Regions from separate parts of the Homo sapiens genome. Here regions 2 and 3 are each linked to region 1. The links are contacts of gene promoters, found by promoter capture Hi-C in human tissues and cell types (Jung and others, 2019). All regions are on one chromosome and are shown on one strand. The core of a region is centred on a gene start or on the middle of the fragment in contact, and the rest is flanking DNA. Distances in the headings are between cores, read along the strand shown. Region 1 holds the start of SPATA3 (spermatogenesis associated 3). Region 2 holds the start of LOC124907997 (a long non-coding RNA gene). Region 3 overlaps NCL (nucleolin).

Evidence for each region. Contacts are between HindIII fragments. The study calls those that stand out against the background at their distance.
Region 2: a contact is called between a fragment that was not itself captured here and the fragment with the promoter of SPATA3 in region 1, in 1 of the 25 tissues and cell types used here (lymphoblastoid cells).
Region 3: a contact is called between a fragment that was not itself captured here and the fragment with the promoter of SPATA3 in region 1, in 1 of the 25 tissues and cell types used here (lymphoblastoid cells).

The regions. Positions count from the first base shown.
Region 1 is chr2:230,994,506-230,997,747 of GRCh38, forward strand. It overlaps SPATA3 (spermatogenesis associated 3), which reads left to right and starts at 1,616. Exons shown (of 5, transcript NM_139073.5): 1 at 1,616-2,029. The coding sequence starts at 1,729. SPATA3-AS1 (SPATA3 antisense RNA 1) reads right to left here and starts at 1,527. Exons shown (of 6, transcript NR_033879.1): 1 at 1,343-1,527; 2 at 772-880. RefSeq lists an enhancer at 1,127-1,660. The HindIII fragment of the contact is 25,386 bases long and covers 1-3,242 here.
Region 2 is chr2:231,410,764-231,413,987 of GRCh38, forward strand. LOC124907997 (a long non-coding RNA gene) reads left to right here and starts at 1,533. Exons shown (of 2, transcript XR_007088118.1): 1 at 1,533-2,162; 2 at 3,213-3,224. RefSeq lists enhancers at 1-250, 251-855, 2,950-3,224 and a silencer at 1,400-1,739. The HindIII fragment of the contact is 6,575 bases long and covers 1-3,224 here.
Region 3 is chr2:231,456,674-231,459,873 of GRCh38, forward strand. It overlaps NCL (nucleolin), which reads right to left. Exons shown (of 14, transcript NM_005381.3): 7 at 2,328-2,452; 8 at 1,593-1,716; 9 at 970-1,127; 10 at 328-451; 11 at 1-91. Among named protein-coding and RNA genes, the nearest start is that of SNORD20, 1.8 kb to the left of the region's middle. The HindIII fragment of the contact is 5,287 bases long and covers 1-3,200 here.

The sequences.
Region 1 (3,242 bases), core at 366-2,865:
TAATTTTTGTATTTTTAGTAGAGACAGGTTTTCACCATGTTGGTTGGCCAGGATGGTCTCAATCTCTTGACCTCATGATCTGCCCGCCTCAGCCTCCCAAAGTGCTGGGATTATAGGCGTGAGCCACCGCACCAGGCCACTGGGGGACTTTTTAATTCATTATTTCAAAGCCTGTATAATTATCTGACTCCCTATTGTTTTCTGGGATCATGAAAATAATGAGCCCCAAACTGGAATTTAGTCCTTCCGATGCCCCCAGCCAGCTGTGTGACCCTGGGAAAGTAACTTAATTTCGCTAAACCTCAGTGTTCTGAGGAAAGGTCATCATTAAGGTATTTTTAGGCTCTAGAAGCCCTAAACTATGTCCTGTCATTTCAGAGTTCATGTTGGGTCTGGCTTTGTGTGGCCCAAAGCCCCCCATTTTTTTTTAAGACAGAGTCTCGCTCTGTCGCCCAGGCTGGAGTGCAGTGGCACGATCTCGGCTCACTGAAAGCTCCACCTCCAAGGTTCACGCCATTCTCCTGCCGAGTAGCTGGGACTACAGGCACCCACCACCACGCCCGGCTAATTTTTTGTATTTTTAGTAGAGACGGGGTTTCACCATGTCAGCCAGGATGGTCTCAATCTCCTGACCTCGTGATCTGCCCGCCTCAGCCTCCCAAAGTGCTGGGATTACAGGCGTGACCGAAGCCCTTTTTATCTGCATAGGTCTGCTCTAAACCTTCCGCTGGGGCAGGAGCTCCTGCGCTTGCCAGTCCCACACTCACCCACCTGTGACACACTGGCGATGAAAGCAGTCTCCTCAGGTGAACACATTTTATGTTGCAGTCACAGTATGAGCTTCAGATTGTCTTTTAAAAATACTTTTCCTTCTTCCATCCTAAAACAAAAATCACATTTAATGAGCACATTAAATTAATTAATCTAGAGAAAGATTCAGTCACCTGTTTAACCCAACCAATTGGGGTTTGGGAGATAGTCTGTGGTTGCCATTGCCATGAGTTTGAGACAAATGTTAGTTTTCTGAACAGCTGTTATGTTCTCAGGGAAAATTATCTGCCAAATGCAAAGGTTCTTATAAAAGTCAAGTCAACCCCCAAACTCCCCTCCCACAGTGCGGGAGGGCAGGCTTTGGGGGAAGGGGTAAGCTACTCTGAGATGGTAGCAGGCTCTGGGCCATGGTAAAGCCTTCGAAGAAGCTCCAAATCTTCAGGAAGCTGACCTGAAGATGAATGCGTGGGGAACATGGATTTTTGAGGTGTAGGAGTAGGGGGTATGTGGAAGCCAGTGACAGAGCTGAGCGTCACATCCAGGGTATCTTAGAGCAAAACAGGTAGCTCACATGGACCCAGGAACACGCCAGCAGAGAGGTGTCTGAAGGCAGCGCTCAGGTCGCAGAAGCATGAGGATCTGGCTGTCACCAGCCCCGTAGCCAGGGCTGTGAGGACCAGGGCAGCCGCTGTCCCCTGCCTAGCCTGGCAGCCTGGGATGAAGGAGGACACCAGGCTGGTGTCTGCAGAGAAGACTGTCCCTTGAAGCCCTGCCATAGGAGCCACCCTGGCTTTTATGACCTCACAGGAGGTGTGGGTCACTGTTCTCTGTGGGGCCTGGGTCCAGCTGGAGGCCCAAGCCAGGCTCCTAGGGCAGAGGGCAAACGGCCCCTCCAGGAGGGAGCCGGGAGATTACGCAGCTCCATGTAGGTCCACGTTTAGGTTGGGAGGATCTACCATGAAGAAGGTCAAGAAGAAAAGGTCAGAGGCCAGACGCCACCGAGACTCCACCTCCCAGCATGCTAGCTCCAATTCCACCTCTCAGCAGCCTAGCCCTGAATCCACACCACAGCAGCCTAGTCCTGAATCCACACCACAGCAGCCTAGCCCTGAATCCACACCACAGCATTCCAGCCTTGAAACCACCTCCCGGCAGCCAGCATTCCAAGCCCTTCCAGCACCCGAAATCCGCCGCTCCTCTTGCTGCCTTTTATCTCCAGATGCTAACGTGAAGGCAGCCCCTCAATCCAGGAAAGCAGGTGGGCTGTCTTCTAGCTTCAGCAGTTCCAGCCTTCCTGCTGATGGAGTTCTGGGTCATCCCAAAGGCTGGTTCTTGTAGGATAGTGATGCATGGTTAACGTGTATCCTGGAGCTGTGCTGTAGAGTGGGAAGGTTTTTGTTTTTGTTTCTACCCAAGAGACCAGGATTCCTGGGTTTTGTCATTTCTCATCATCCTGAGTCTCACTGAAGACAGCCACACATACATATAAACATTTAACTTGGTTCCATAGTAATACTTGCTCACTAGGAATCAGCAGTGCCATGCAACTGCTAAAAAATAAAAACCAAGGATGCATTTATAGAAGTATATGGTTTAGAATAAGGGAGGTGATGATACTGCTTTATTCTGTCCTCATCAAGCTATCCTTTTGGGCTGTAAAAGATGCCTGACAAACTAGTCCAAGGAAGATAGTCTGGGTTGATGGAGGATGAGAAGGATCAGGGAGACCATTTAGTGTATGACAGTCAATTGAAGGAATTGGAGGATGTCTGTCTGTCAAGTGGAAGATGTGAATAGACTTGTTCCTTATTGTCCTCAGAGATCTAAGGGTCTGATGTGGTTTGGCTGTGTCCCCACCCAAATCTCTTCTTGAATTCCCAGGTGTTGTAGGAAGGACCCAGTGGGAAGTGATTGAATCACGGGGGAGGGTCTTTTCCGTGGTGTTCTCGTGATAGTGAATAAGTTTCATGAGATCTAATGGTTTTAAAAAAGGGAGTTTCCCTGCACAAACTCTCTTCTCTTGTCTGCCGCCATGTGAGATGTGCCTTTCACCTTCCACCATGATTGTGAGGCCTCCCCAGCCACGTGGAACTGTAAGTTCCACAAACCTCTTTCTTTTGTAAATTGCCTAGTCTCAGATATGTCTTTATCAGCAGTGTGAAAACAGACAAATACAGGCCCATGGATAGGATAGCCAGACAAAATACAAGACTCTCAGTTAAATTTTAATTTTAGTAAACAACAAATAATATTTTTAGTATGTGTGTCCCCAGTATTGCATGGGCATCCTATATTTTTATTTGCTAAATTAGCAATCTTACCCATGGAAGACATTAGTGACAGAAAGCCTTCGGCTCAACATAAAAAACTTCCCAACAATTAGCTCTGTCTGAAAATGGAATGGCTGTCAGGAAAAGTGGTTCCCTGTCTTCTTGGGAGCCAAACAGTGTCTGTATAAGCATTGGATTGTG
Region 2 (3,224 bases), core at 416-2,915, 420 kb after region 1:
CTTTGTCAGTCCTCAAAAAGTCCAGTTCCACTCTTCCCCCAGGGTAATGGGTGCCTACTCAGCCACATTTACATAACTAAAGGAGACCACTCAAAGAATCCTACTCTTAACAAAGAAAGCTGTTCCTAGGTGACTTATTCTGTGCACCTAAACTGAGAAGGAGCAGGGGGAAGCTTCTGGAATCCTGTTATACACCATGTTCAAAGTAAGAAATGGAGGGCTCTAAGAGAAGGATCCCACGGCTATTGTGTGACAGGCACGATTTGAACTCTGTGCCCTGCACACCTAACCCCCATACTCTACTGTCTCCCAAGAGCCTCCAGCCTCCCATCCTTTTTCCTTAGCAGTAACTTAGTCACAAATATCTGTGTTTGTTGTTTCTGTCTAAAAGGAGGAAAATGTTATGTCCAATGAGCGATTGAAACTGTGATGGTTGGGGGAGCCCAGCGTTATTAGGGCTGTAAGAAATAAATGTTTCCAGAGAGTTATTTAAGCTATTGTGAAGAAAAACTTTTCTGTTCCAGTGAAACACTATACATTATCTAAAGCACAGCCAGACCTGTCTGCTTCCAGCCCCATTCACGGTCTTTGAGCTATTTTGCACCTCTTTTTAAGTTGCAAGTACTGAGGGCTTTGCAAACTGTCTTGTCAGGTGAAGCTTCCATTGACTTCTCTTCCACCCCCCACCAACACCCCCACGGTGGAAAAACCAGTTTGCCGCTGTTTGCAATTCAATTCCTTCACTCCATATAAATTTGTGCTTTTTGATGTCTCCTTTGAACCAGATATAACATCTACCTTGTCCTTTTTATGAGTAAAATAAATCTTTAATACATGCTCATTTTTTATTTCTGAACAAGGGTCATGAATCTACCTTTTTCTGAAAATTGTCTTTTACCAATTGCCTTTATGTGAAAATGAACACAGATACATTATCGAACAGAATGCAATTTTTGCTTATATTTCTAAAACAAAACTTGAATCTTGGAATACATTGTATACTCACTGAAGACCCTTCCAAAGTGAGCCAAAGCTTAGAGCTCAATCCTTTTAGAGGGTTTTGCCCCCCGGGAATTTGAGAAAATATCTAGTCCAGATCGCAACCAGACAGAATGAATCCGAATGAGTGAGTGGGTGGGGCGCGAGCCCAGGCATTTTTTATCGCTCCCAGGTGACTCAAGTTGGGAACTACCGGCCTGGGCTGGGATTGACTGACCCTGCCGTGCAGCCTGTGACCTATCACAAATCACCTTGGCTTTGTTTTTCCTCGGTGCGGCCGAATCCCACAGGAATGCGTGGAATCCCTGCCCTCACCCATGGCGAAGCTGCCCCCCTCGGGCTCCGCCTGCCCCCCGCGGCTCCTCGTCGCCGGGCAGCCAGGAGCTGCTGGGTGGGCGCGGGCGTCCCGGGGCGCGGTGCGACCCAGAGCCCCTCGCGGAACCCGCCTGGGCTGTGCAGGGGACAACGCGTTCGGCTGTCGAGGGTGGGGGAGCCCTGTGTGTGTGGTGGGGGTGGCATCCGATGGATCCCGGGGGCCTGCGGAGGAGGTGGGCATCTCGGCGCCACCCGGTGCGCGCCCCGAGCGAGGGCATCTCCCCTCGAGACCAGCCCGCGGAGCTGCGCGAGGCGTGGGGTAAGGCGGCGTAGACCTCCCAGTGCCGGCTGCAGGGCCGCGGGTCGGGGCGGGGCCCCGCGAGGAGCAAGGGGCTGGCCGGGCTGGAGGGCTGGGTGAGTCCCCGCCCTGGCAATCCCAGAAGAGGGCAGGGAGCGCCCCCAACTGACCGCCGGGGGCATCGTGACGCTGAGGTGGATGGGAGACTGCACGATTTGAGCAGGTTGTGTGAAATCTGGAACTCCATTACTTGTACCCCAAGGCATCTTTTTTATGCGGATTTAAGCTGGAAAGCGCCACACCAAGCTGTTAACAGGAACTGCTTCCTGGCACTGAGATTCCAGGGGCTGCTCGTTCCTTTCTCTGGCTCATCTGTGTAAGGAAGACTTTCCTCCGTGAGCCTTTCCACCAAGCTCAGGCCTGAGGCTTAGGAGAAATGTGCGAGATCCCGACAGCCTCGGAGGGAGTGAGGGGGCTTCGAGACCCTCAGGGCCACCTTAGGGGCCTCTACCAGGGAAGGAGAAATGATCTTGTTTCACCGGCCAGGGAGGTGAGTGCAGCCCCTTCAGGACCTCAAAAATCCCTACTGGGGGCCCACCCTCAGAGGCCTGGTGAGGTCAGAACTAAGGCCTTGGATAGCAGGATACAGTTTGCTGTTCTAATTGTTTAGTATCTGATCTCATAGACAAATGACACAATAATCATTTTTTCATAAAATCTTAATATATAAAGCCAACGATGGTAAGGATATGTTTGGTTTCAAGTGACATGAGATTCTGCTCAGTTGGGCTTGGTGGCTCGCACCTGTAACCCCAGCACTTTAAGAGGCCTAGATGGGCAGATCGCTTGAGCTCAGGAGTTTGAGACCAGCCTGGCAACATGGTGAAACACCACCTCTACAAAAAAGTACAAAAATCAGCCAGGCATGGTGGCATGAGCACCTGTAGTCCCAGCCACTGAGGGTTGCGGAGGGGAGCTGAGATGGGAGGATCCTGGGAGGTTGAGGTTACAGTGCCCATGCACTCCAGCCTGGGTGACAGAATGAGACCCTGTCTCAAAAAAAATAATAATAATAAAAAGAAGGAAAGAAAAGGAAAAAAGAAAGTCTGCTCGAACTGGTTGCGACCAGCAAGGAGATGTGTGGGCTCACAGAAGTGAAAGTACAGGGATGCCTGCCTCAGGGGCTGATGCAGGACAGAAATATAAAACAGCCACTCCCCATACTGGAGCTGCCTAGCTGGAAAGGGGCAGGTTGAGATTGCTCTCAGGTGGCCTGACTGCAAAAGCTGCATGTTAGCCACCACTCAGACACGTGCTAGGGTCTGGAGGATGGAGGCAAGTCTGGAAACAGCTGCCTGTCCACCATGACTGCCTGCAATTTGTTAAGACCACCTGCAATTTGCTAAGCGCTGATGGGGAGGCCAGGCTCAGCTCAGATAGCTCAGCTCCCGCAGACCTAGTCGAATGTTTCTTGCTAGATTTTATGTATTTTTGTAACCAAATGCTCCCATTTTTTCTAAGAAAAACGGAATGAATTACTTTTTTTTTAATTATTATTTTCTATTCTCTCCCCTTTCCCTCCTTCCCGTTTCCTACTCAGCCCTTCAGAAAT
Region 3 (3,200 bases), core at 1-2,500, 460 kb after region 1:
CCTGATTGCTCTGCCCTCAATTTCCCTTTTATTACAGGAATTTAAAGCTTCTTTAGCGTCTTCGAATGAAGCAAACTCTATAAATGCATACCTGAGGATGAACAGTTAATGCTTAGAGTAAGTTACCAGGCACATGCTCCTTCACTGTCACATGATGCTGCCAAGCCCCTTCTCTCAAGTTGGTACCTAAATGATGATCTTTATTTTACACTCATTTACGTAGCTAAAATTATTTGGCTTTTCTGACAGGATCACATGACCTTACGTTCCTTTAGACCTCTAAGACATATATAGCCTATAACTGATGATACAAAGGTATTATCTTACCCTTTAGATTTGCCATTTTGGTTCTGGGGTACTTTGATAAAAGTTGCTTTCTCAAATACTTCCTGAAGAGTTTCTTCTGTTGCACTGTAGGAGAGGTTGCTTAAAACCAGAGTTTTTGATTCACCTGCAAATAGAGATGCCACATTCCTAAGACTCTGAAACAGTGGTTCCCAGCTTCGGTCACAACAGTAATATCTTATTCCTAAGAATTTCAGTGCTTGAGTTAATATACAAATACTCATGACGTAAGCTAAATCCATTTCTGTTACTCAACATATTAAGTACCTAGTACGTGTTGCAATGTCCTGCTGGTTGTTCTTACATAGGCTGATGACTGGTCTGTTTTCCTAGAATCATCTGAGTTCAAAACGCACATGGTCAAGTCATTTAAAGTATAAAACATGCCTACAAAGGAAGCTTGATTTGCCTACTGTATTCCAATGCAAAATGATTTTAGAGCTCTCATTCAAGATTGGAAATTACTATTCCAAATAAGAGTATGACTTGGGGTATCATGTCCTTGATCTTCACCTACATTTGAGTAACTTTGATTAAAAAGTATTTATAAACTTATGAAATACAAAGACACAAAGGAGTTCCCTCCACCAATTCTGAAACCTTGTAACAAGCCTAATTTCTTACCACTCCAAGTGCTATTCTTTCCACCTCTATAGTCTTGATTTTGACCTTTCTCTCCAGTATAGTACAGGGAAATAGATCGCCCATCGATCTCTGTTCCCTGCTTTTCTTCAAAGGTTTTCTCTGCATCAGCTTCTGTCTTAAATTCAATATAAGCAATCCTGCAATGGAGGGAGAAGAACTCATGGTTTTTAAAACCATATTAACACAAATGCTTTTACCTCAGCAACACAGAACTTGCTTCAGATCTGAGTACAATAAATGCCCTTAGTTTTATGCCACTTTTCAATCAAAACTCGAGCTTCCCTCTTACTTCCCACTAGTTTTACAAATACTTGGAATTTTTTCATAGTAACCTCACCTCACTGAAAGAACTGCTACTACTTACAAAGTATTTATTGTAAGATAGGCACATTTCTTGCTTCTTTGTAAGTATTAGCTTGTCTTTTAAAATCACCCTATGAGTACATTATCCCCATGGTACAGATGGGTTACTGAGGCACAAACTTACAGGTTAAACTGTCCAAGATTACACGCCTAAGGAAATCAAACCAATATTTCTTTTATAAAGCAGGAAAGTGCATTAATGTTAATAAAACCCTTACATTTCAATAGACAGAACATACCCTTTACTTTTCCCATCCTTGCTGACTAATCTGATCTCCGCAGCATCTTCAAACACTTCTTTCAATTCATCCTGAGTGACTTTGTAAGGGAGATTTTTAGCCAAAAGTGTTCTCGCATCTCGCTCTAGATTAAAAAAACAAAAATGAGCTCTGTGGCCTGAAAAACCAAAGGTGGGGGGCAACAACAAAAAGAGGGGAAAAACACACATAGCTCTATTCAACAAATAATTTGAGATCCTATAATGTACAAGGCTCGGTGCTAAATATGGAGATATAGCAGTGTCAACACACAAGTGGTCCCTCCATGTTGTCACAGCTGATGTCAAACTCTCTGTTAGGTACACTGGAGTTCAACCTAGAGTAGACGCGCATAACAAAAAAAGTGAATGTACCAATTCAAAACATTACAACTGTATATAGGGAGTAATTAGGGACCTAATCTAGTTTCAGTGAAGAAAGATCCCTTTACGTTAATTTAGGTGCATCTAATAATTCTTGTTCTGTATAAAAGTGCTCTTGCTTGCCTAACTCAGGAATTTACACTATAACACTGACAAGCAGTGCCAAGTACTCTTGTAAACACTGTAGCTCATTTAATTCCCACATTAAGAGGAAACCAAAGGAAAAAAATGATTTAAAAAAATAAGAGGAAACCAAGGGAAATGGGTTACAAAGCATTTTCCCTAGCAGTCTAGCTCCTGAGTTCATTGCATAATCTCATAAAGCCTTACATACCTTTCTTACTGTCTTTTCCTTTTGGTTTCTCTAGTTTAATTTCATTGCCAAAGACTTTCAAACCAGTGAGTTCCAACGCTTTCTCCAGGTCTTCAGCAGATTCAAAATCCACATAACCAAATTTCCTTCAAGGTGGAGAGGAGGGCAAAATTACAACAGGTGAAAACACAAATCAAAATCCACAATATGTATTCTAGACAAATGTGATGGTGCAAACAAAGATCACATTTTAAAAAGCACCCCTAGTATTAGCAAAACAAAGTCAAGGCTCTGCAAACTGCAGCTACAGAACAAGGTCTCAGCATGAAGATATGACATGCACATTCACGTTTGAGGTCTTCATCATGGAGCTAAATTGCTTATAAGAATTCACAGTAGCAGCTGACAAAAGAACACCTATAAGCACTAATACAGGAGAATCCTGTCTGGATAAAAGTATTCACTATGATGACTAGACAGGTCTAATAGTTTCAGGTACTTCCAAGAAAATAAACATTATTTTAAATTGAGACGGTGTCTCAATCTGTTGCCCAGGCTGGAGTACAGTGGCGCGAACTTGGCTCACTGCAACCTCTGCCTCCCAGGTTCAAGCGATTCTCCCACCTAACACCAAATTATTAAAACTTACTGGCAGGGTGGCTCACGCCTGTAATCCCAGCACTTCGAGAGGCCGAGGTGGGTGGATCACTTGAGGTCAGGAGTTCAAAACCAGCCTGACCAACATGGTGAAATGCCATCTCAACTAAAAATACAAAAATTAGCCAGGCATGGTGAAGTGCACCCGTAATCCCAGCTACTTGGGAGGCTTAGGCAGGAGAATCGCTTGAACCCGGGAGGCAGAGGTTGCAGTGAGCCAAGATTGCGCCACTGTAC